Regions from separate parts of the Homo sapiens genome. Here regions 1, 3 and 4 are each linked to region 2. The links are contacts of gene promoters, found by promoter capture Hi-C in blood cells and fetal thymus (Javierre and others, 2016). All regions are on one chromosome and are shown on one strand. The core of a region is centred on a gene start or on the middle of the fragment in contact, and the rest is flanking DNA. Distances in the headings are between cores, read along the strand shown.

Region 1 (7,047 bases), core at 2,276-4,775, 1.2 Mb after region 2:
ACTCTCCAAAGCTGCCTTCTGGTCCCATGAGCGGGACTAGAAGCTTCCCAAAGCTCTTGAAAATCAGTCTGGAAAGTTTCGCAGAAGTGATCACAATGGAGGAGTCCCAGCCAGACTTCATGGTTACCCATAGCATAGCAAGAACCAAGGTGGGGGCTAAGTTAACAGGGAAACCTCGTGCAATAAGAGCGGCCAGATCATGGGAGCAGAGAAGCAGAAAACATCAACGGCAGACATCAGTGGAACACCCCTCTGATAGAACTTGTTGTCCTTGGAGTTCTCCAAGCTGAGGAGCAACCCAGCTCAGCCCTTCTGCCAGAGAGATCACAGTGATTCCAGAAAACAATCCGCAGTTCAAGAATGTCACCCCACCACCAACAACAACCAGCCAAGGTCACATAAGCCACACCCTCTAATGCACCCACCACCACTTTGCAGAGGCACAATGGGTGAGGAAAAGAAGAGAGTGGATAATCTATTCAAAAGAAAATAAGCATAAACCTATAAGGACTGTTTAAACTATTGGCCGGGACTCACTAAAGCTGTGTTCACCTGTGATTTGATTTGTTAATTACTTTTAATAACTCTCTGCCATTTGGAGGCCATCAAGTGGTTCATTTCTTTTCATCTAAGTTATCCTTCTTGTTTCATGTAGCTTCAAAAAACTGACCTTACCCTTTTTTTTAAAATCTTCTTCAAATAATTTTCTATGGATGTCCTGAGACATTGAGGAATGTCTTAGAAGGAAATACCTTCTTGAAAGAATGCATATCCCAGTATTGGGCATTAAATGATTAAATAACCATCTCTGAGCTTCCTCTAAACAAGTTGTCAGGAAGAAATATAGAGGTGTTGTCCAAGAACCATCCTGGCATCCTTGTTACTGCCCAATAAGGAATGTGCCTTCATGTTAGATCTCAAATGGGAAGTGATTGAACCCACCAAAGGGATTCACCAAAAGCCTTTAAAACATCCTTCCCAAACCAACAGCAGAAAGAGACACACAAATTACTGCAAGACATCTATGACTATATACATACATACAACACAGTATCCTGAATCCTGAAGTTATAGCAATGCTCCTTAGCTAAAAGCACCTCAAGAAGAGAAGAGGATTTTTCAGAATCTCTGTGATGTGCCCCTTGGGGATGGGTAATATGTCCTTTCCTACTTCACCCCAACCCTATCTCCATTTCTGTAAGAATCACTACCACAGAGAGCCACTGCTACAAATGGAAAAGAGGTTAGTCTTTCAAATTGCTCAGACCAAAAATAACAGTAATAATAATAACGTTGAGAAACATTCTACACTGGAGAAACAAGAGCTGCTGTGTCACCAACCTGAATACGAGGTAGTGCTTTAAAACAGGGGCACCCTGTTTTAAAGGTACAGTAACATTTCATGGCCTGTTACGAGCCAGGCAGCACAGCAGGAGGTGAGTGGTGAGTGAGGGAGCATCCATGCCTGAGCTCCTGTCAGATCAGCAGCAGCCCTAGATTCTGACAGGAGCACAAACCCTGTTTTGAACTGCACATGCGAGGGATCTAGGTTGTACACTCCTTATGAGAATCTACTGCCTCCGAAACCATCCCCACCCCTACCTTCCATGGAAAAACTGTATTCTACAAAACTGGTCCCTGGTGCCTTAAAGGTTGGGGACTGCTGCTTTAAAGAGTTATATTGGAAGGGCATGACAACTTTTATAAAAAATTGAAAAGTGGGAGTTGAACAATGAGAACACATGGATACAGGGAGGGGAACATCACACACCAGGGCCTGTCACGGGGTTGTGGGGTAGGTAAGGGATAGCACTAGGAGAAATACCTGATGTAGATGACAGGTTGATGGATGCAGCAAACCACCATGGCACATGTATACCTATGTAACAAACCTGCATGTTCTGCACATGTATCCCAGAACTTAAAAGTATAATAAAAATAAAATAAATTTCTTAATTTAAAAAAATTGAAAAGGACATATTCTAGACAAATGCATAAGCAAAGGCCAAACATGATCTATTATTTAGAGAGATGGGATATACAAAGAAAGTCTACCCACTGAGTCATAACTAATTTCTAGACCACAATTACAGTGATAATCACCAGCCCATTAGTGGGTAGAAGATGTATCACTTGTGTCCTTCATTGTATAACTGCATAGTTAACTGTACTTGGTTCTCATTACAGCATTCTCAGAAAAACCTTTTATCATCTTTTATATATCCAGACAGGAACTGACTACATTCTATCTATTCAGAGGCAAGATTATGGTGCCCCAGCTGGAAGGAATCAGGCACTATATCTTCCCTAGCAAACTATCTAATTGGAAGCTACCTATGTCAGATGCAAGTGGCATCAATACTTACTTCCTCAAGTAAATGATACACTGCTGTTGTTTAAAGAAGCTGGACTCTGTTGCTTCAGAACTTGTTGGAAACCATCCAAACAAAACCAAGTTTATCAAAGGTCAAACTAATGTCTTTATGCCCCAGCCCACAGCATACTCAAGGCACTCTGGAAACAGATGAGTGACCTCCTCACAAGCCTGCAAACAGACTGAGCTTTTCTCCCTTGCCTCACTGAATATCCTCCATGCCTAAGTCATACTCATCCATTAAGGATCATCACATTCCACTTCCTTAAAGAAGTCCTCCTTGGCCACTCAAAGCTTCATTGGTCTCCCCTTTTACTGAAACTTTTTGAGCAAGTATTGATTACACTATAATTGCAGTATTTAATCATATACTGTCTTGTTTGTTTTTAATACTAAGGCATTTTCTGAAAATAATTTGAAAATCTCACTACCAAAGGGTTTTTCAAATAAGGGATTGGGTTCCAGGTTTTTAAATAATATGGTTATGGTTTTAATTTGTGGTTCTTTGTCAGAAGCCCGACTGTTTCCTGATCTTACCAGGACAATTACCCCTCAGAATACTGCGAATCAGGATAACTACCTCTGAAGAAGCTGGTACTCCCTGGCAGCCCATTAGCTATCCCATTCCGACACACTCACCGCTTACCCCCGCTCCTAACTTGCCAGCTTGCATTCCTGACTTCAGCTTCTCTCTTCCACTCACTGGCCCAGACATTGCCTTTTCTCATGGGGGTAGGTAACTGCCTCTGCTTCAGGCTCAGCTCTCCTCATTTAAGGCTAAGTTTCAGCCTGCCCAAATTAGGTGTGTCCCCAGCAGACACACCTAGGGTAGCCAGCTCTTGGCTGCTGTTCTAACCTCCTCCTTATTGATAACCTTGGTTCACCTGGCTGCTATTCTAACCTCCTCCTTATTGATAACCTTGGTTCACCTGGCTGCTATTCTAACGTCCTCCTTACTGATAACCTTGGTTCACCTGGCATCTACGGCCATTTGGCAGCTCTCTGCTGTCCCCTCCTGGCAATTTGTGGCACGATGTCATATCGCTCAAGGAACTCAGCCAGCTGTCTTAACTCTAGTTAAATCCTGTGGATTTGTTATTTCAGGTGACAAATGGTTGCTTATTATCACATGAGAGGAGATGTTTTAAGTTTAACTACTGTTTCTTTAGCACCCACTTGCCTATCCCACATTCAGCGACTCACAAGCAGCTAGCCCTGCCTTTATTAGATACTAGTAGATCTAAAAGTTTCTCCTAAAAAGCCAGCTATCTATACCAGACTGATATATACATATCCATGTATATAATAAAAGGAAATGGGAAATGTAACTCTAAGTGAGGCACTGAAAGTCATTATACTACTCTCTTTTTCTGATTCCTAATCCATATAATAACAAAGGTTAGGTCTGATGGTATACAATGATAATTCTCAAAGATTAGTTTATATGAGAGTTGTCTGATAAGCATGTTATAAGTTAAAATTCCTAGGTGTTACCCCTAGAAACTAATTTTCCAGGTGGGACCCAGAGTTCTACATGTTTTTTTATGTGGGGATGGGGGAAAGAGTCACACTATGTGGCCCAGGCTGGAGTGCAATGACACAATCTGAGTGCACTGCAACCTCTGTTTCCCAGGTTCAAGCGATTCTCCTGCCTCAGCCTCACTGAGTAGCTGGGATTCCAGAAACGCATCATCATGCTTGGCTAATTTTTGCATTTTTATTAGAGATGAGGGTTCACCACGTTGGCCAGGCTGGTCTTGAACTCCTGACCTCGTGATCCACCCACCTCAGCCTCCCAAAGTGCTGGGATTACAGGCGTGAGCCACCGCACCCGACCAAGATCTACATTTTTAACCAGCACCAGGTAATTCTAATGCAAGTGGTCCATAATAAACATTAGTCTACCAGCCATCTTCTGTTCTATTATTCTATTTCTTGATTCAGCCAAAACTACACACTCTGAGGTTTAGCAATGGAGTAACAGCCTAACAAGGACCTGGGGTAAAAACAAGCTTCTATAAATAAGCATATTTTATAAGCACAATAATTATGAAAGATTCTCTACCTGCTGTGCAATGATTGCAGTGCCCAAAATATGCCTAACACTATCATCTGATGTAAGAGAGAGTGTTGTAATAACTCTCTCCTCCATAATTTATCACACTAGAACTTGCCACACACAGAGATGAGAGAAATAACTGAGTCAGCAAATATTTTAGCTCTCAGCAGACAAGTAACTGCTGTTTAGAATACACTGTGGTGTCCTTTGTTAGACCCAGAGACATGAAATTGGGGAGGTTCATGGTTTTCTTAATTGTTATTTGCTTAGCCAAATGACTTATCAGACTAGGCCTCCTAATATTGTTGGAGTAAAGACCAAAAAAGAAGATATTTCAGCCAGCTTCACAGCAGCTGAAAATGTAGTTTCACTGCATTTCAAATATAGTGCTTGGTTAGCAATATTTCTCAAACTTTAAGGTGTATTTGGATCAATAGGGCTCTTGTTAAAATACAAATTCTGATTCGGCAAGTCTAGGGTGGAGGTTGAGACTGCAATTTCAACAAGTTCCTGGGTGACCCTAGGGCTGCTAGTCCACAGAACATATTTAGAGTAGCAAAGCTTTCTTTAGGTTTCTGCTGTAAAGGCAGGCTGCTTACCTTGTAATCCTGATGTTACCACTTATTGACCATCCAATCTGGGGCAAGTTGTACCTTGAGCCTTAGGTTTTTTTAATGTGTAAAACAGTATATCCTTCAAAGGGTTATTGTGAAATTTAAAGAAGGAATGGCTGTAAAACTCCTAGCAAGTGAAAAACTTCTCATAAATGTTTATCCTTTTTGCTATATGACCACACAACTTCATGTGACACCAGTAGCAGATTATGATCACTGTTTTCCAATATTATTCCCATCCTCCTTCCTGGATCATCTTCCACCTTGTGTCTACAGTCTTCACAGCCCCGAACTATCTTCTCTTATTGGCACAATAGGAGAAAGAGAAGGCAATGTGATGAAAGCAGAAAGAGAGATTTGAAAATACTATGCTGCGGGCTTTAAAGATGGAGGAAGGGGCCACGAGCTAAGAAATTAAGCTCTAGAAGCTGGAAAAGACAAAAAGAATTCTCCCCCAGAGTCTCCAGAGAGAGTGTGGTCTTGCCAACACCTTGCCTTTAGCCTAGTGGAAATGACATGAGGTTTTTGGACTCCAGAATTATGAGAGAAAAATACAGGTTATTATTTAACTTTGACTCGTCACTATATTTTTTCTATTTTTCTATTTCTGGGCCCCACCTAGACTGCCCTTTTTTATTCACCCCACTAAAATACAAATTCCATAAGGACAATGGCCCTATGTTATTACCTGCTCTATCTTAGTGGCTAGAACAGCACCTGGCACATAGCAGGTGCTCAATAGGAAGTTGTTGAATGAATAGATTAGAGCCACCTTCTCATCAACCCCTGACTTCAAGAGACTGAGTCCAATTCTTTAAGCTCAGCATTATTCTTGTTGACCCAAAACTCTACACTAGAGATGCAGCTGGATTCCGAGAGTGATTACAAGATCAGTGAATACTGGCGAAACCATTTCTGATTTGCCACTAGCAAAACAACATGAAGGAAAAGTGATCTCTTGCTCTTAAAAGCAGCAAATCGTTATTGGAAATGAGGAAGAAATGAATAGTTATTGATCATAGATGAGGAAACTAAATCTAAGAGAGCACAGAATAAGGATTCTTCTATTCTTCTTCAGGTTTGCAGTTTTTACTATCTAAACGGTTCCTCTCACATGTACTCCCTGAACTACCAACAACACATCACCAAGGAAGGTGTGGAAATACAAATTCTCCAGCCCTGCCAAGACCTACTAACCAGAAACTCTGGGGGTGAGGCTAAGAATCGGTGTTTTAATAAGCCCTCCAAGCCAGACGTGGTGGCTCACACCTGTAATCCCAGCACTTTGGGAGGCCAAGGCTGGAAGATTGCTTGAGGCCAGGAGTTTGAGACCAGCCTGGCCAACATAGCGAAACCCCATCTCTACAAAAAAAAAAAAAAAAAAAAAAAAAAATTAGCCAGACGTGGTGTTGTGATCCTGTGGTCCCAGCTACTTGACCACATAATACCGAACAGATACCTTAAGGCCTGAACAGGCTACCAGAGCTAAGAGAGATCACAAACCGCAGGAACACTCCGAGAGGAAAAAGGCAAGAGATATTATCTTGTGAGGGGAGAGAATACTTTTATATTTATTAGTTTATGAAGGGAAATAGAGGTGAAAAGTGAAAGCTTGGCAACAGAAGAGATAGATGTTATGGTTGAATGTTTGTGTTCCCCCAATTTCATATATTAAAATCTAATCCCCTGAGTGGTGGTATTAAGAGGTAGGGCCTTTGGGAGGTGACTGGGTCTTTAGGGTAGAGCCCTAATCAGTAGGATTAATGCCATTATGAAAGAGGCGTGGGGGAACTTGTTTGCCCCTTCCACCTGTGAGGACTCAGATAGAAGACACCATCTAGAAGAAAGGGCCATCACCAAATCTGCTGGCGCCTTGATCTTAAACTTCCCAGCCTTCAGAACTCTGAGCAATAATTTTCCATTGTTTATAAGTTTGTAAGGTATTTTATTATAACATCCCAAAGAGACTAAGACAATATACTTTAGAACAGAAAAGGAAA
Region 2 (6,130 bases), core at 1,987-4,486:
AATCCGATGTAGTCTGAGATGTTGTGCCTATGATTAGTGTCTATACACTTTTTTTGCAGTTGTGAATTTTTTTCCTTTTTTTTTCAGCCACGTAACCCATTCTATTGATAGCTAGTATTAACCTGGTAGTAATAACAATATAGTAGTAATAACTGTGACGATAACACAGACTACTGAAGTACAGTGGAAATGGTAGATTTAGAGCTAAAAGAGCTAGGTTTGAGTCCTAGCACTGACACTTTCTGGCTAAGACATTACCTAGTTCACTCAAGTTCTAGATTTCTTAGCTACGACATGAGGGCAAGATAGCACTCAACCTCATCAGTTTGTTATAGTAAGTGAACTAATATAGAAGACAGCACTTTGTATCCTGTAAAGTACTTTACAAAAATTTCATTAGTATTACAAATACTTACCTCAGTCAATCTGCTTAAGTCAGAATGATCCTTGGCCAGTTCTACTGCATCAATGATTGAGGTTCTGATATTTTTATTAATCCTTTCCACTTCACTGAAAGCTAGAGGCTGAGGAGGCAATGCATTCCAGGATGTCTTGTCCAGATGTGGTGAGGCATTTAAAAGAAGCCCATAGATGATTTGCCTGATGGGCTGAGATATTCTGTGGGCATTTGGTTGCTGCATGTTTTCCACCTGTGTGGGAAGAATGGTCCGTCTTAGGACCAAAGCATCACTGATGAAAGGAGATAGCTGGCCTTTAGCTAAAGCCACTAATACCCATTCTGGTAAACCAAGATTCAAGGCATCTGGACAGACATAAGTACCACACTGGAAGAAGTCCTGTAGCTTCACCTGGGACTGTTGGTATTCTTCCATGGAACAGCAGAGAAGTTCCTTAACATTTTCTCGATCCTTTTTTGGGAGGTATTTCAGAACATTATCTAGTGCTTCGGTAGGGTTGGCAAAATGAGACAACCAATTCAGAAGTCCCAGGATTCGGTGGTGTCTCCTCCCTTTAGAACTGGTAGCTCCAAGAGGAAGACGCGCTTTACTTAAGAATGTCTCCATGATGGGTAGATTAACATGGTCATTTCCACATAGCACCGCAAAGAGAGGTAGTAGAGCTTTATTCATATTGCTGAAGTGATGGCAGAATGCATCAAGGGAAAAGCATTTGGCAGGGATATAGTTTTGTGTGCCCTTAATAGTGTTCATATTTCTCCACTGAAAGCTATTCAATGGGCAAAACCCAGTTTTCAGGTCAAAAATGCAAAAGTCACTATCTGATGATAACACAGGGCAATTCCAATGGTTAGCAAGTGTCATAATGTCCCGATCTGCTTCTGAAAAGCACTGGACAAAACACACCCGCAGCTTGATCAAAACCTGTATGAATACTTCCCGGATGAGTAAGGGACATACGTACCCACTCCCACCAACAGAAAGGGAATGGGCCATCTGGATCTTCTCTCTAGCTCTATCCTTTAAAGTTGTAAGCTTTTTATCTGAAATGTCACATCCTCCATCTAATACAACATATGGGCATATATTACAAGCAAACAGTGATTCAAAGAATTTTTGTACAACATCTGCAAAAGAATCATAGTCCCCTCCATACCGGAGATCCAAGTTTGAACTGAAGCAAAGACGGTGGAAAAGAGCATAACCATCAATGACAATTTTTGTGTCCCGCAACTTCAAATCAGTGAAGAACTCATTACTATGATCTTCCACAAAACTCATTAGTCCTCGGATACCCATGATGACAGTCTAAAGAATTAATCGCCTGTTTAAAACAACAGAAAACATTTTCAATTGATGCTAGTTATGGGGCACCAAGTCATTGCTTCCAGCACCATTAAATCAATAGCAAATGTTATGAAGTGCTCTTTAGATAGAACATAGATATCAACATCATAAATTCTTACCTAGATCCTCAAGCAATGTTAGCTGTGCTTTTTCATTCTCCTTTGCTTTCTGATACAAGGCACAAATTCAATGGTTTCATGGGTTGTAATCTTTGGATGGTGACAGAGGCTGCTGCTAATTCTAAAGAAAAATCAGTTGAAGTCCATTACTGACACACCAGTATAGAAGTTCTGTGAACTTTGATTCTTAAGTGGTAATAGTCAACATCTTACAGCACAGAGTATTTGTTTTGTGGGGTCAAAGTAAAAAGTCCTAAGCTAAAAAAAAGATATCATATTCATCTCATAATCACAAAGCATTTGGGCTTCAGTAAAGTAAGGTGTGTAGGACCTATGATAAGGATCAAGTTTTTCTTTTGTATTGACAATCAGTCACGGAACTTCTTTCAGGCTTTGGATTTGTGGGCCCTTCTTAATTGGCATAGTTTTTGGTATAAGGAAAACTGCTTCATGCCTCTAGGAACCCCTCTATCCAGTTACACCCCTAACCACGAGCTCTTTTCATCATCTTATTTTGCATATCTGGCCCAGCTACGCTTCCTCACCTGGCTAACTTAACTCGCAGGATCAGAATTGATGGTTTTTCTTTTGACACCTCGGGCTTCAATATGGCACAGCACGGTACTGTTACTATTACTTAAAATCGTGACATTTTGTCAGTCATGGATTTTTTTTGCTATAATTTTGATTTTTAGAGATTGCATTAAAACTTACCTTGATTACTGAATTTTATTGGCATCCATTTACATTTTACACTTATCTCACCCTAGTTCCAGCCCTGTCAGTATCTCAGAACCTTATCCTGTATAGTACTTATTTCTTTGCAAGATAGTTTTGTAAAGCGTCCATAAGCAGAGACTGTGTCAAGGCGTCCTACGCAAATTACAGGACCTTGCACAGACAGTTGCATAGAGCTGCATAGGGGAAAGGCGGGCAAAAGGTCTGACCTAAGTCTTCAAACACAGGCCTTCATACACCGTGCCACCTCGGCCCTCACAACCCGCCGCCCGGACCTGCAGCAGAGCCCACCTACTCTGTCCTCCCAGAGGAGTAGCTCCTCCATCAGAAGCCCGCTAGAGCCCAGCGAGGACTGGCTCCTGCACGTGAGAGTCCAATCTCAAGAGCGGGAATCGGAAGTCTCCCGGTGTGACGTCTCTGGGAAGTACAGTTCCGTGATGCCGGTGGCGCCAGACTGAGCCAAGGAGCAGGTGTTCTCGGGCCCAGAGGCGCTAAGTAGCTAAAGAGGGCTGGGACGTACGTTCCGAAATGGCTGCTGTCAGGCTAGGAAAGCTTGGCCCGCCGGTCCTCCTCTGCTTTCTCCGCCTACTTGGGTCGGCGAACACTTCCGCCTTGGTGCCGCCTCGCCCCGACTTCCCAGTATGCCCCGCGCCGTCTCCCTGGCCACGGTTCCAAACAGCCGTGGCCCGCGGTGTCTGGCGCTCGGTGGGTGTGGTTGCCCCTAGTTTGAGGCCTGCCCGATTACCCGCAAGACTTGGGCAGCCCCGGGCGCCGCTCCGACCACGACAGGGAAAGGTAAAGCGAACTGTCCTCCTTGGGGCTAGCCAGGCTCCCCTGCGAGGGGGAAGGTAATGGTTTCAAGCTGCCCGGGCTGGGTTCCGAATCTCTAGGACGCCATGGCTGCGATCTCCTCGCTTTCCTGGACATCTTACCTCCGGATGTACTCCAGTCTCAGTGCCCCTCAATAAACGTTAACCTGCTTTGCCAAAATGTAAATGTTTAAAAAGGTGAAGAAGCAAGGAATTGTTCGTTTTACCTTAAGGTTAAGATTTACTTTAAAGGTAGATTTGTGCTGTAGCAGAAACTGGTGACAAATTGCCTTCCTCTTATTACCTGGGAAGATAACTACTGGTTTTCAACTTGTGATAAATACTCCTTCCGTTGTCTTTTGCCCCCAGCCAGATCTGTTTCACCGAGAACGGGTAGTTTGCACAAGGTAGTAACTTTCTCCAAGTTCCCATCTAGCTTTCTTAACTAACCTTTTTTCTCTCCTTTGGGCGGCAGTTGATCTGCTGGACACTTACTTGCCTTAACAAGGTTTGTTAAACACCTAGTATATGCCAGGAGGTATGCCAGGGATTGGGGATGCAGAAATAAAGAAGATGTGTTCGCAGTGCCCAAGTTCACTCAAACCTCGAGGGGGAGCGTGTTGTCAAGTGAACAGATAGTTCTAGAATCTAGACAATGCGACACATTCTTGGGTAGGTTTATGGTTGCGCAGAGGAGACTAATGGAATGGATGACCTAAAAGTGGACTGGGATGGGGGTGGCAGGGCTGAGTCTGTGAGGGTGGGCGGGAGGGAACCTAGTCCCAGAGTCTTCTGCAGCCTGGACCAGACTACTTAAGCACTGCTGGGTTTAGACTGTCCTTTAAAATAAGAGCCGCTAGAAGTGAACTTCTCATTCTGTCCGTCCCTAATTCTGTCCTTCTCTAAAAGGAACCTTAATCTCATCTTTAAAATAAGGAGAATTACTGAGTGACCTGAAGGACCCTTTTCAGCTGGAAAGTCTGTAAGTCCATATATTTATTTGAACAGCTTAGTATGGCCAGACGGCATCACTTTTATGACAGTGAAGGGGAAGTAAAAACAAAAGGTATATTTAGAGGCCTGCTCTGTAGTTGTTTTTCCAGCAGATTTTACTAACGTGTCTTTGGAAGGGAAAAGAAAAAGCTGGTAACTAATCTCACTGGTATTAGGTACAACTTAACTGATTCATACATTTTAAGAAGGAAAATGTTGTAAATGGGCATTTACTTATGTTCTGTTTTGAGGATTTTTGTGGTTAATTGCCCTAGTAGTTTTTGTGGTTGACGGACACCACCACGTAAAGCCCATTGACCATCCTTAAAAACTAGGTTTTTGTCTCATAGCTTTGGAATTGTTGAATATGAAAACCTAACTTCAAGGTGTAGGCAGTTTTCAATTTAAAATGTTATTTCTATATAGATTTAAAACAAAAGCACACTTTTCTTGATAACTAACAAAACATTTAACATTCTGATGAAATAAAAGTGATTTTACTTTGTACCTACTCATATGAAACAGTCCTGCCTTTCTTTTTTTTGTTTTTGTTTTTGTTTTTGTTTTTGTTGAGATGGAGTCTTACTCTGTCGCCCAGGCTGGAGTGCAGTGGCGAGATCTCACTGCAAGCTCCGCCTCCTGGGTTCACGCTATTCTCCTGCCTCAGCCTCCCGAGTAGCTGGGACTGCAGGCGCCCGCTACAATGCCCGGCTAATTTTTTTGTATTAGACGGGGTTTCACCGTGTTAGCCAGGATGGTCTCGATCTCCTGACCTCGTGATCCGCCCGCCTTGGCCTCCCAAAGTGCTGGTACTACAGGCGTGAGCCACTGCGCCCGGCCTAAACAGTCCTGCCTTTCATAACTGCCACGTCTCATAGCTCCCTGAGGAATTACAGATTTATCTGTAGCATTTATATTCCACTGACATTAAATGGGATTTTAGGTTTGAATTGAATTTGTAACTCTTCCTGTTTTTAATCCAGAGAGATTATACACAATGTGTACAATAGGAACTTCAGAAACTAGAATTTGCTGAGCATGGGAAAAAATTCTCAATCCTTATCCTTCTTTGCATCTGTCCTAATAAATACAAAAACTGTGGTTTAACATCTACAGAAAAAAATAAATCTAAAGGAAACAGCACCTGCTAATTCCTTGTTTAATCCTAACTCACTCTTTGTAAACCAAAGTAAATATAAGGTGAGAAGAGGGCATTACAAAAAGGTTGATGCAGATGTATAGATTTAAGGAGGTGATAATGTTCTTGTATTTGGATTCTTTTATAAGTAGTTGGGGAGTATAAATCTTAAATAAATGAAGAGATTGCTCATTGTAAAACAGATGTACATCCCAGAAATTTGTGGAAAGTTGGCTATAATTCACTTCTGCCAAATTTCAATGTACAAAGGGAGGCTCTTCCTGTGAAAGATTGCCTTCTGGAATTTGTGGTATCTCTACCTTTTAACATTTTTTTTCAAGTTGTTAACCAATATGGTGTCAGTCTGCTGATCAAGGTGCAGATATCACTGCACTTAACACTTTTTGTTAGACATCGTTTAGCAACCTTTAGACCTGATCTTTTAACTTTTCATCTTTAAGGAACTGACCAACACTGGATGAATTTGACCATTTCTTAGGAGACTGGAATGTTAAGTTTCTATAAATGAATGAACCAGTTCTCTCTTGTTTGGAGCAATGCTGAAAT
Region 3 (6,358 bases), core at 137-2,636, 1.2 Mb after region 2:
TAGAATAGTCTAGTATACACTATACTACTTGCCTACCCTAGTTATCACAGGGCCAGTTATCAGCCAAGTAGGAGCAGTCCCTGTGTTCCAGAGCTTGCTAAAATTATTCAAACAGCTAATCCTAAAATGATCCTCATGACCCTGTCTCACCCATTCCTTCCCATGAAAACCACAATAAACACTGTCACCCATGCTTTCCCCTGACACACTCTGCCTCCTGATTCACCCTGGTACTTCTCCATGGGGTGTGGATAATGATCCCAAAAGACGCAATCCTGAACGCCATAATCTGAATGTTGAAATCCCAAAAGACCAAAATCCCTAAAGTCTAAATCCCTACAGTCTAAAATTCCTAATGTCTAATTGAATCTCAAAGCACAATGACCGATTTAGAATTATATACAGTCAAGGCTTCTGAAAGTGAATTCAAGCTGTTACCAATAATAATTGTTTTTTTCCATTCAGCCCAATGCATTTGACAGAAAATTCAAATGAGTGAATTGGCCATGTGATACGGCAAAGATGAAAACTTCAGTTTAAAAATGCATCATGTGTCTGCATTGGTATTCCTTCCAGCTGACGAAATTCCTTGAGCTTTTATGAGTTAAAGCCATATTTGCCTGAAGAAGCCTAATGAAGTTACAGACTGGTTCAAAAATAATTATATGCACAGAAGAATAAGAAGACATGCAACAGTGTTGCTGTTCCATCGCCAATATTGTTTCTCCCAAATTTTTGGTCTGTATATGAGTGCATGGGAAATGAATTTCCACATGTTCAAAGCAACATGGAAGATGGCACAGAAGATGAGAAATTTTAATAGAAAATGCTCATGTTGGGGTACAGCAAATCATAGAAGAATTTTAAAAAGAGCAGCACCAGAGTGAGCATATTCTCCAAGGTGGGTCGTGCCCTAAAAGAAAAAATGCAGCCATGCCTCACTGTGGAAGACTTCAAAATATAGTCAATGATGGTGAAAATCAGTCAGCTCTTAGGGACTATCTCCATGCAATTGCCCATAAACTATTTCCATATACTTTTCCATATGTCAAATTTTCTTTTTCATTTCTTGGGGGGTTTTCTGGGGTTATTTTTTCCTTTTTTAGTTTTTTTCCACTATTTTAAATTGTCAGCATTATGTTTTACAATTTGCTATGCTACATATCTCATATTTGCATCATTTTCAATATTGGAGATATAAATTGCTTAGAGACTTTTAGAGAGTTCCAATTCATTTTATGTATTTTTTGCAGAGTTGACTCTATGTAAAGTGTATTATCAAAATGTTGACGTTGTGTGTAAGCATTGTGCATGTATATAACAACATTGAAACTTCCTCAGTAAATTAAGAGATGTCCATTTTGTACATCTGCATTTGTGAAAGATAAACTCTCTCAAGATCTCGATTATTTGAGAGACTGCATATGCAGTGGTGACCCATGGCAGGTTTTGACCAAATATCAAAAGACTTAGGTTATTTGTCACGGTGTTTCAGATGACAGATGTTATAAAGCTGGTCACACAATTACCAACCACAGTAATATACATTTGTACATTTCCATTTTATATATATATATTTTTATTATACTTTAAGTTCTAGGATACGTGTGCACAACGTGCAGGTTTGTTACATATGTATACATGTGCCATGTTGGTGTGCTGCACCCATTTACTCGTCATTCACATTAGGTATATCTCCTAATGCTATCCCTCTCCCTCCCCCCACCCTACTACTATACTTTCAGGGATCATTTCTATAGTTTGTTACATTTCCATTTTTGACCTATTTCTTTATAAATATAGTTTGTCTGCTTGTAATTGTTATACCTGCATGACTCTTTACCATACCTGTTTTATGCTTGCAAAAATATGTTATTGTGTATTTTGCTGTGTAAAGTGGCCTATGAAGTGTTCTGTCACGTTTTTATATATTTCTCAAATAAATCTTTTCAAAACAAATAAATATCTTTTAAACAATGTCCTTTAGTGGCCAAGTGTGGTGACTCACACTTGTAATCTCAGCACGTTGAGAGGCTGAGGAGGAAGGATCAGTTGAGACCAAGAGTTTGAGACCAGCCTGGGCAACATAGCAAGACCTTGTCTCTACAAAAAATTAATATAAAGAAAAAAGAAAAACAGTAGTGTTGTTTGTTATTTTTCCAGAATTGTATTTTCAGGATCTTTCAGGATTATGATCAGCTCCCAGTTTGGAGAACTCAGTTGAGAAACCCTGCTCTCCACACATGGAACTTCACAAAGAATTGGCATTCAGCAAACACTTACTGACTTGGCAAAGGGAAGTGTCTCTAATGCTCCAGTACAAAGGTTTCTTAGTTTGCATTCCCTCCGAAGCAAACCCTGAACCTGCTGCAAGTGGAACTGAATGCAAGTAGTTATTCGTGAGATAAAGAAAATACCAATAGGAGAGAAGTGGAGTGAGAGAGAAAACGAAGACAGCATTTTAAGGGTACATTAACAACCCAGCTACCACGGTAGGTAACTGGGGCTCAGTCTCACCGAAAAAACTTTGGAGGCCATGTGCCTCAAAGTTAACCTCCCAGAGGGGTGAGGGAGCTGGAGTACATACCGACCAGCTCCCATCATTCATTGGCAAGGACTTCTCTCAGGGGATGTCAACTCTCTAGCACTTCTATCTTGCCCAGTGCAGGGCAAAGCAGACTCTAGTGACTAGATAAGGCCCTCAGGCAAAGAAATGCAAGTGCTATCAGTTGGATGGGTGTCCAGTGGGATATGGGTGTGGTATGTGGAACATCTACTACAGAAAAGATCATTGGCAGTTTCTGAAAATTCCAACAAAGATCTCCTAGACCTCATTCTCCAAAACCAAGAAAGGAGAAATGTCCATTGATTCCTTTATTAAATATACACATACTGCCTGTTTTGGGATGTAAACATGTGCCAACTGTACAATCTAGTAGAGACAAAAAAAAAAAAACAGAGACAAGATAATAAAATGGAAGAACTGTGGGGAGGGTAATGTAGCTGTTCACAGGGTTAAAATGCATGATTACTTTGATACAGCCTCATGTCCAGAGAGGCTTGCTCTATACTTTTCATGTCATTTTAAGGGGAAATCATAATAAGGTCTGACTTCATGATCAAATCCCAGCATTCAGACAATGTTACATCAACATCCTTTAATGGGTAAGTTTGCCTGTCTATTTCGTGCTGCCATAACTCTACTTTTGTCCGTGGAACAATGACAATGACCACATATCACAAAGAGAAGCACTTGGTTGTATCAAACACAGAAGAATTCTAGGGATGAAATGGAGTACCTCAAGGCATGCCCCAAACAGGATTTACCTGGCTGACTCCTCCCTCTTCTACATTGGAGGAGGAAGCACATGGAATTCCAAAATCATATTGACTTGGCTAAAGACCCCATTCATCCTTTTTCTAGCAGCAGGACTGAATCATACAAAGTCCTTGAGCTTCAGAATTCTCAAGTGTAAAGTGGGAATAAAAATACCTTCTTTACAGGCTTATTGTGAGTATGAAATGAGACATGGGTATAAACAAGCTTCACTAAGTGTAAAATGCTACATGAGTGTTAGTAGTTGTCTTATGCTTCATGGACCATGACGACCTTGGTCACTAGTCCAATAAGAATAAAATGATCATTCACAAAGGATAAGAAGAAAGGGGTTTCCTTTCAACTCTACTTCTAGGGAAGGGAAAACAAACCTGTCCTGAGCTTCCAATATTTTTATTATACTTGAAAAAGCAAAAGGTATACTTGAAAGCACACCCCTCCCATTTCAGAGTGAATCATGTTGCTAATCACCAATACTAAAATCAAGCTCAAAAGGAGGAATGCTCAGTTTATTTTTTCAGCATTTGAAAGATGAAGCACTTAATTACACATTCTGTAATTAGTTTGTAATTCCCACAAAAGGTGTAAGAGGAATGTTAATGGTGGCCGCATGCCCTGTGAAGAGGGAGCAACATATCTGGCATTCAAGCACCATCCCATAAAAGGGGTTCACTAAGTACACTGGGGCCATCACCAGCTTTGTTCAACTACAAAGAAATCCTAAAGGCAGCTCCCATCAGCACAGTGACAATGAAGGAGAAAGGCAAAATTCTTTATATATGAAGGTCTGCCAAGGCCATCACCTAGAGAGTTAACTACTTAATTACTTCAGTTTTGTGGGACTGTTGGTCATCTCCTCAGAAAGAGATCAGGGAGTAGAGTTGAGATGACATTTTGTGTTGGATGTTCCCAGAAGTCATAGGGCTTGATTGCCTCTTTTGTATTGTTCATTTCTGCTACTGTTATACATTCCTCCCAGAACTGGTTCCCTTGGGTAGCAAGCAATTACCAAAAGCATTTCAAATGCAAAGGACTACAGAGTATGTTCAAGGTAATCAGGACCAAGAAGCCTGCTCTCCAGGCCTAAGACCAAGCAATGGGGATGTAATCACTGAGCTGCCACCAATTCACTCAGCAGGTGCCTGGACAGATATGCCCCTTGAGAAGAGGAGTTGATTTTCTGTGCAAACTATAAAGTGTGACTTACATTCCAATTTGATGGGCTCTGCCGGCTCATAGAAGCAGAGGGCAATTGGGTAGACTGTTTGCAAAAGTGGCCCCAATTATTCACTTCCCTGCCTCCAGACCTGCTTGTAATGTGATTTTGAAATTTTTCCCATCAAAAGTCTATTTTCTAATCCCTTGAGTCTGACCTGGCCTCATGACTTATTTTGGCCAAGAGAATGTGGCAGAAATGACATTGTGCCAGTTCCAAGCCTACGCCTGAAGAGACCTTGCATTCCTTTTCTTGGAACCCTGTCCAGCCACTATATCAACATGAACAAGCCCAGGCTAGCCTGCTGGCTAATGAGAGACACATGGCCCAGTCACCCCTATAGCCTCAACCAGCAGCCAGACTAGCTCCAGAAGTAGAGCTTCCTACCTGACCCACAGCTGACCACAGATCCAACATGAGCCCAGTGCTACCCAACTAACCCATACAATTGTGAGTTAAACCAATGGTGGTAGTTTTCAACCTCTAAATTTCAGTGTGGCTTATCGTGTAGAAAAAGCTCCATAGAGAGACATATCCCATAGCCTATTCTGGTGGCAAATGTCAGGCACAATGATGCCAGAGAAACAAAGTGTTTGGCTTCTCAGGGACAAGATTCCACACCAGAACTGTCTGTGCAGCCCCACCCCCTATAACAAGGCTTGGTCTGCCCACTTGGGCAACTGCAAACACCAGCCTCTGGGTGTTGCTCTGCATCTCTGCAAATAACCTCAACTCCAGCTTTAACCCACCATTCCTTGTGCTCAATTTCTATTTGTTTGGCCTAGTTTTGCCCCCTACCTTGGTTCCCACCATCTACCTGCCCACATTTATCTTGAACATCTGTCTGAACTCAGCACAATTCTCCCACTCCTTCCTCAGCTCCTCTTCATGCTCCTGCTTTCTGACTTCTGTCCATACCACTGGATAAGAACTGCTCACCCTAAGGTCACTAATGGCCTCCTAAGTCCAATGTTCAATGGCCCCATCTCCATTTCCTCTTATTCAACATCACTACAGTATTTGACACTGTCCTCTGTGACCTGCTTTTAAGAGAGTGTACTTATGAAAGTTTTCCAGGAACCTCATTTGAAAGAATCCTTTCATTCTAGTAAGTCTAAAGGCTTGAACATGATCATAGTGAGGGACTTGCATAGTCAGAAGCATTTTCAAATGACAGAAGTATTTCCAATGTTAATGAGAAAGATGGCTGCAACATTTAAAAAGTGGGATAGATATACTGAGTATGATTCTTCATGTTCTTAGCTTGTTGCAAGCCAAGTCTATTTTTAAGGGCCTTATTTTATCTAAAAAGATAGAAGGTGAACTCATTGGACAGGAGTCAAGAATTCAGAACTAGTCCCAGTTCTGTCATTTATCAGCAGTCCATCTTTGTAAGCCACTTAACATCTCTGAACCACAATCTATCATCTGTGAAGTAGAAACAATTGCCAGACTGTAACCTACTTGAGGGTAGGGATTCTTTGTATACTTTTTTTTTTTTTTTTTGAGACAGAGTTTCGTTCTTGTTGCCTAGGCTGGAGTCCAATGGTGCAATCTCTGCTCACTGCAACCTCTGCCTCCCAGGTTCAAGTGACTCTTCTGCCTCAACTTCCCGAGTAGCTGGGATTATAGGCACCCGCCACCACACCCAGCTAATTTTTGTATTTTTAGTAGAGACGGGGTTTCGCCATGTTGGCCAGGCTGGTCTCGAACTCCTGGCCTCAAGTGATCCACCTGCCTCAGCCTCCCAAAGTGCTGGGATTACAAGTGTGAGCCACCGCAACCGTCCCTGTATACTTTTTACC
Region 4 (6,501 bases), core at 3,949-6,448, 1.1 Mb after region 2:
ATCTTCATTTGTTGCTCTGTAAAATGGGGTCATATTATCTCACAAAGTTGTCACAATAATTAAAATGAGATCTTGTTTTCTAAGTCACCTGACATATATTAAGTGTGAAATCATTTTTCTTTCTCATTTTCTTTTTTATAACGCTCTCATAAATAGTAGGTGTAAGAGTTCTTCCCAGGATGTCTCATCAGAATTCAGAGAGTTACCTTTGCTGTTCCTTCCAGCAAGATCTGCAGTGTATTATTGCAGAGTCAGCTCGTGAAGTATGCATGAACTCTCTCTAAACTGGTGTTTTTAGCCAAGAAACAAACCACTTCATTGTAGGTGCCTGTGAATCAAAAGGGAAGGTTTCCATAGTACTTTTGCCTGTGCCAAATCCATACATCTGCATTTTTCAAGGGAAATTGCTGAAAAGATATTAAGAGAAAAACTTCCCTATACAGATATGTCTGAAATCCCCAAATGCCACCCTAACAAAATCAATATTTTTATGAAATTGACAAAAGTTTAAAAAGAGAATTTTCTTTCTCCTGCAGCTTTCCTTGATTCATGAATTGCAGCATCAAAGAACTTAAACCAGAAAATACACCAAACTGTTGTTGTCACATTGATTCATGGTTGGTTAGATAAAACAAATAATCTTAGCTTTTAGTATCAACATGTCGAAATTTCAATAGCAGTGAAATATTGTCCATTGTTCATTCATTTATTGATTCATAAAATACGTATTGAATGCCTAACTTGGGCCAGGCAGTGTTCCAGGTGCTGGGAATAAAACAATGAATAGACAGGCAAATCATTCCTGCATTAATGGAGTTTAACAGTCTAGTGAGGAAAGAGATAATAAACATGTAAACGAATAAATAAATGGTATAATTTCAGAGAATAAATACTATGAGAAAATATAACAAGATAACGCAGTTCCCTGGAAGTCAGCACTCAGACATTCTGAGACAATATTGCTTGAGCAGAAAGCTGAAGAACAAAATAGAGTCATAAAAAAATTAGAAGATAAAGCGGTCAGCCAAATGGAACAGCAAATGCCAAGGCCATAAGGCAGGAGCCAGGTAAGCATGTTTAGGGGCAAAAAGAAGGCTACTATACCTGGGCAATAAGGTCAGAGAGGAGGTGGGCTGTGCATCTCAAACCTGATTGTGAATAAAAATCACCTGGAAATCTTGTTAAAATGCAGAATCTAATGGGGGTGGGATGCTGAGATTCTACATTTCTAAAAAGCTACCAGGTGATGCTGACACTGCTAGTTCATAGAGCTCACTTTGAGTAGCAAGGACATAGGGCCTTGCACACCATGGGAAAATGAATTTCCTGCGAGTTGAAATAGAAGGCCACACTTATCTGATGCCTTTACACCTAGAAAGCCCTTCTCAGTTACACAAAGGTCTCATTACCCTTTGGCATTTCCACACACCCACTACAAAACTAAGTACTTGATAAATGCACCATAAATGCCTGCATTCAATGATAAGGCTAATGATCTAGATCCTGCTTTGTGGTTTGCCTAGTATTGGAAAGAGTAGCAAAAATAATGATGTAATGGGGTGAAGCAAAAAGTGGTGAGTGAATGGAAAGACTTTAGATGGGCTTTGAATCATATTTCTGGGTTCAAATTCTACATTACCATCTACAAGGTCTTTGGCAAATTGTTCAACTTCTCTGAGCCTTTATTTTCTCATTTAAAAATAGAAATAATATCCACTTCATCAGGGAGATGTGAAAATCACATGCAATAGTAAAGTGGAAGTTTCTTGCAATAGTAGATGCTCCATAAATGTTTATTCTCTTTTTCTCTTCTTTCCAAGGTCCACCTGACTGTCAACACGATGACATTTGTATCAAATAGCATCACGAATCTGTGAATTTTGTAGAGCACAACTGATTTCCAAATTAGGAATTCAGGGCCCACATCCATGTGAAGCAACTGATTATTCCTATAGCACTTGCTTATTGCTGCTTTAAAGAAAACCTAGATTCTAGCCCTTATTCTAAACTAACCTGCTGGACAATCTTTGGTAAGTCCCTTGTCCATCTATGGACCTTAGTTCATCTGTTAAATGAAAGAGTTGGAGTAGATGGTCCTGCCCAACCTTGGCATCTTCTGACTGTGATTAACTTGGTGAGAGTTCTGAAAGTGGACTTGTTTTCCAGAAAACATAGCAGAATCCTTGTAGCTGAGATATTTGGGTGATGAGATTCAAATTCATGAAGAAGACAGGATGAAACCCTTGTATATTAACCTTGGCCAGCAAATATCCTCATTCCTTTCTCTCCAATCCCATTATTGCAGGGACTAGAGTGCCAGAAATATTATCTTATTCTCACTGGATCTTTCATATTTTTAAAAGCAACTGACATCACAGGAAAAACTTGAGAACAAGACTTAATGGAATCAAATGTGCACTTCTCTGTTATTTTACTTTGTCACATAATAATGTTATAACCCTTTATTTTCAAAAATATCTTTGAGATGAAAACAAATCTATAAAATTGCTAGTATTTTTAAAACTTGAAAAAGTTTAAGGAGGATGTTTATGGCTTTATATCTGTTCTGGTCTTCAACCATCTACTCCTCCAATCCTCCCTCACCCCAGTTTAGGGTTTTTTAAGGTTTTTGTTTGTCTGCTTGGTTTTTATTATTGTTTTTACAATTAAATAAAATAAAAATTAAAATAACCCCAACAGCAAATATCTTCAGATGCTAGAGGATTACAACTCCTGAGAGGCTTAGGTTGAAAAAGGAACTAATGCATCTTGTCTAAAGGTGTATATTTGAGATAAATCGTTTTCCAATGAATACTTAGAAATAAGCAGAGATTATTTCTTAAAAGGTCAGGTGCTTCATCTCAACAGAATGTTTTTCCACCTCTTTCAGAGGAGACCACTTACTTTCAGATATATCAACAAAAGTGCCCCTTCCCTTAGACCTAGCCAAAATGAAGAATCTCTTTATAGCTTTATTTACTCTCTGCCTTTGAGAGTTTTGCTGTTTGCCTTCTTTATCCTGATGCTTTGAAGGCTTGGAGTATTGAATAAATGGAGAAAAGATCTAAGAACCAAGTAATGGAGACACACAGTTCAGTTTCAGAGAGCTCACGGCAACCACAGAACACACGATGATTAAGAGATTAAATTATGTGACCAAAGGTAGACCCTAAATCCTCCAAATTATATATGTTTCCCAGATCCATGGGTCTACAGAGCTGGCAAAGGAGCAGGTGCTGCTTACCCAAAACATTGGCTCCTTTAGCATCATCTGTGCTCTTTCCCAGCCAAGGGCACCTATAATTACCTCCCATAAGCTGAACTCTCAACCCTGCCTCGCTCCACACATACCCACTGCTGAAAATTGTATTGGCAATTAATTTGTCAGGAAAATGCTAGGGGGTGTGAACACTGGTAATTTTATACCATAGATATTCAAATTAAACCTCGAGCCTGAGTATTTTCAGTGTCAAATTGTAGCATAGTTGCAGAAAAAGAGAGAAACACAAACTTCCTCCTGCTATCTCCTGACTAGAGGTGAAAAAGAATGTTCCATGTGGATGTGATAACCTTGGCTCCATCTCTAGGGTTGACTTGGGAACATGAACAACAAAACACACTAATTATGGGTGATACCTTTTGTGCTCCTCTTTGAGTGAAAGGAGATGGGGTTGGTGGTTGTTCTGTATCATTCCTCAAGTGACAAGAATCATTTTAATGACCAGTAGCGTCAGATACCAATAACTTGTAGAAGCCCACTCCAATTCTGCACCTGATTTTCGTGAGATTACTGTGAGAGTACTGTGTTTATAGACCCTTGGTCAATTGACAGCCATGAAAATAGCATAGGACAAAAGAGCACCAGCATAACACCAAACAGAAAGTCCCCCAAACTATCTCATGTACACAAGGAAAGCCTCTGGAACACTGGAGCTGAATCAAAACAAAGAGCTTAAAGCTTCAGATTCTCCTGGGACTATTGTTTTAAAGATTCATTTTGTTAATTATTTTGAAAGAAGAAAGAAAACTAACATTGACAGCCTACTTCAAGTCAAAAATTGTGCATACATTACATCATTTAATCTTTATATCACACTCATTAGGACCCAGGTGCAGTGGGTCATGCCTATAATCAAAATGATCTGGGAGGCTGAGGCATGGTGGTACATGCCTGTACTCCCAGCAACTCAGCAGGCTGAGATGGGAGGATTGATTGAGCCCAAGAGTTGGAGATAGAAGTGAGCTATGATCAGGCCTTTGCCCTCGAGCCTGGTGACAGAACGAGATCATATTATATATATATATATATATATGAAGATGCCTGCTAGCTGCTCCCACAGAGAAGAAACAAATGTGAGTAAACACTGGCTCTTCAAGTGGATATTCTAAGAGAACACATTGCGATTCACTAAAGAAGCAATGGGACCCACAGAGAACAAAGAAGAACAAAGTGAATGATTACAGCCACTGGGGATCCACAATGTCCCCACAAACCCTTTGCAATCCTGGGCACAGGAGAACTCCCCCGACCCATCCGGGCCTGCAGACCAACAAGAAGAACCATCTGGAGTCCATGCAGAGATATCTCTCAAGCCCACATGGAGCACCACAAGCACTGGATCCCAGAGCAGTCTGACACCAGCTGTCAATGTGCTGCCAACAAGGGAAGACAGGCAAGACAGGCTCTTTTGCAAGCCCCTAGGATAGCTGCTACAGCCACAGTACTGAGGAGCAGACCAACTGCAGACCCCACCTCTGCTGCTCCTCACCAGGCAGGGACCACCAGTTGAGGCTCCCAGCACAGCTGCCCCTGCTTGGATACTGTAGAAAGTTGCAGCTCTGGGGTCCTGTGGGATGGAACTCCAAGAGATATAACTGAAAAACCCTCTGCCCTCGCCCCTGTTGCCCTCAGGTTGAGGTGGAAACAAAGAGGCTGAATGCTTTCACACATCTCCAACAAGGACACCGCTGCCCAGATATGAAGAACTGGGCAGACTGCACACCCCACAACTCCCTGCCTTTGCTTGCCACTTCTGGTACCCAGTGCAAGCACCCTGCCTCCACATGAGCATTTCAGCTGCAGTCTAGAGTCCTGAAATCCCTACCCCCACAGGTCTTCCCTCAGGTTCTTACCACCCAAGCATTCTGCCTGCCCCTGCCTGAGAGTTCATCCAGTGACCCAGGGGCCAGCCTGCCCCTCTCTATCGCAGTCAGCACCTGAATCCTGGGCTAGCCTGATCTGGCTCCAGACCCTTCAGGACTCATACATGCAGTCCAGCGGACCATCTAGGGGCCTGGAAACTGAGGAACTACCTATCCCATTCAAATTCTGCTGGCACCTGACCACTTCTCACACAAGCCCAAAGGCATAGCCCCCGCCTTTACACAAAGAAGCAGTGCTATCATATCAGAGAACAGCCCTGCCATAAAGCTATTTGTATCAGGCTGAGTGATGAAGTTGCCCCAAACCACTTTAATGGAGAATCACAAAAGAGGCATTTTCTGAGGCTCTCAGACACATTGGTCTAGACACAGACTACAGTGTGTGTCTGAATGAGGAGTCATCAGCCCTGGAACAGGGGCATGATAGGAAAATAGACCATGTTCCTACCTATCAAAGATGGGGAGCCAGTGCAGATCCCTCATCTCCTTGCCCCGCCCCAGAGATCTCAGTGCATTTCACCAGGGACTCCTCCCAGCCACCCTTGACAGGGCTGGTGCCCGCACTCACCATGGGGGTATTTGTGGGCAAGCCAAAGGCTCCAACTCTGCCTAGCTTTGTTTCTCCACCCCCACAGAGCAAGAAGCACAGGGCACCAAGCACTCTACTGTCCAGCCCATCATGTAAAACAACAGAGAGCACCTCACAGCAAACAGACCATGTACATACCCATCTGTTTGTGCAGCAACTGGCTCATACCTGTCAGCACCGTCTACTGGCCTGTAAGTTGAATCACACAGCCCAATATAAAACTGCCCACAAAAATGCATAGGGTTATAGAAGCAAAGCCAAAAGATGTTACCCAACACACTCTACAGTCCCATCCTCTAGGAAAGGGGAGAAATGGAAATATATATAGGGAAAGAAAAAAAAATTCTACCAGCATGAAAATAAATACAAAAATTAGTAGCACCAAACTCTCCAGATGAGAAGGAACCAGTGTAAGGATTCTGGCACCGTGAAAAATCTGAACATTGTGACACCACCAAAGGATCACATTAGCTGTTCAGCAATGTTCCCTGACCAAAATGGAAATTCAGAAATAATAAATAATTCAAACCATGGAGCAAGGATGCTCAACAAAAGCCAAGACAAAGTTGAAAATCAACACAAAGAAACTTCTACAGAAATCCAGGAAATGAAGAAAGAGATAAACATCTTAAAAAGAAATCAATCAGAGCTTCTGGAATCACCTAAGGAATTTTAAAATACAACTGAAAGCTTTATCAATAGACTAGCCCAAGCAGAAGAAAGACTGTCAGAGCTTGAAGACTATTCTT

The links. Contacts are between HindIII fragments. The CHiCAGO score rates a contact against its expected background, and 5 or more counts as called.
Region 1: a contact is called between a fragment that was not itself captured here and the fragment with the promoter of ASTE1 in region 2, in 3 of 17 cell types (total B cells, naive B cells and total CD4 T cells). The highest score is 6.9, in total B cells.
Region 3: a fragment that was not itself captured here is called in contact with the fragment with the promoter of ASTE1 in region 2 in 1 of 17 cell types (naive B cells); the score reaches 5.6 in naive B cells.
Region 4: a contact is called between a fragment that was not itself captured here and the fragment with the promoter of ASTE1 in region 2, in 1 of 17 cell types (activated CD4 T cells). The highest score is 5.3, in activated CD4 T cells.

The regions. Positions count from the first base shown.
Region 1 is chr3:132,207,554-132,214,600 of GRCh38, forward strand. No RefSeq gene overlaps it. Among named protein-coding and RNA genes, the nearest start is that of TRC-GCA6-1, 18 kb to the right of the region's middle. The HindIII fragment of the contact is 1,718 bases long and covers 2,667-4,384 here.
Region 2 is chr3:131,023,589-131,029,718 of GRCh38, forward strand. ASTE1 (asteroid structure-specific endonuclease 1) reads right to left here and starts at 3,237. Exons shown (of 6, transcript NM_014065.4): 1 at 2,919-3,237; 2 at 1,886-2,006; 3 at 417-1,743. The coding sequence starts at 1,718. NEK11 (NIMA related kinase 11) reads left to right here and starts at 3,289. Exons shown (of 18, transcript NM_024800.5): 1 at 3,289-3,418; 2 at 4,342-4,414; 3 at 6,025-6,130. The coding sequence starts at 6,121. RefSeq lists enhancers at 2,889-3,128, 3,269-3,328, 3,409-3,598. The HindIII fragment of the contact is 10,416 bases long and covers 3,174-6,130 here.
Region 3 is chr3:132,191,494-132,197,851 of GRCh38, forward strand. No RefSeq gene overlaps it. Among named protein-coding and RNA genes, the nearest start is that of TRC-GCA6-1, 34 kb to the right of the region's middle. The HindIII fragment of the contact is 4,312 bases long and covers 1-3,542 here.
Region 4 is chr3:132,168,771-132,175,271 of GRCh38, forward strand. No RefSeq gene overlaps it. Among named protein-coding and RNA genes, the nearest start is that of TRC-GCA6-1, 57 kb to the right of the region's middle. The HindIII fragment of the contact is 2,484 bases long and covers 3,957-6,440 here.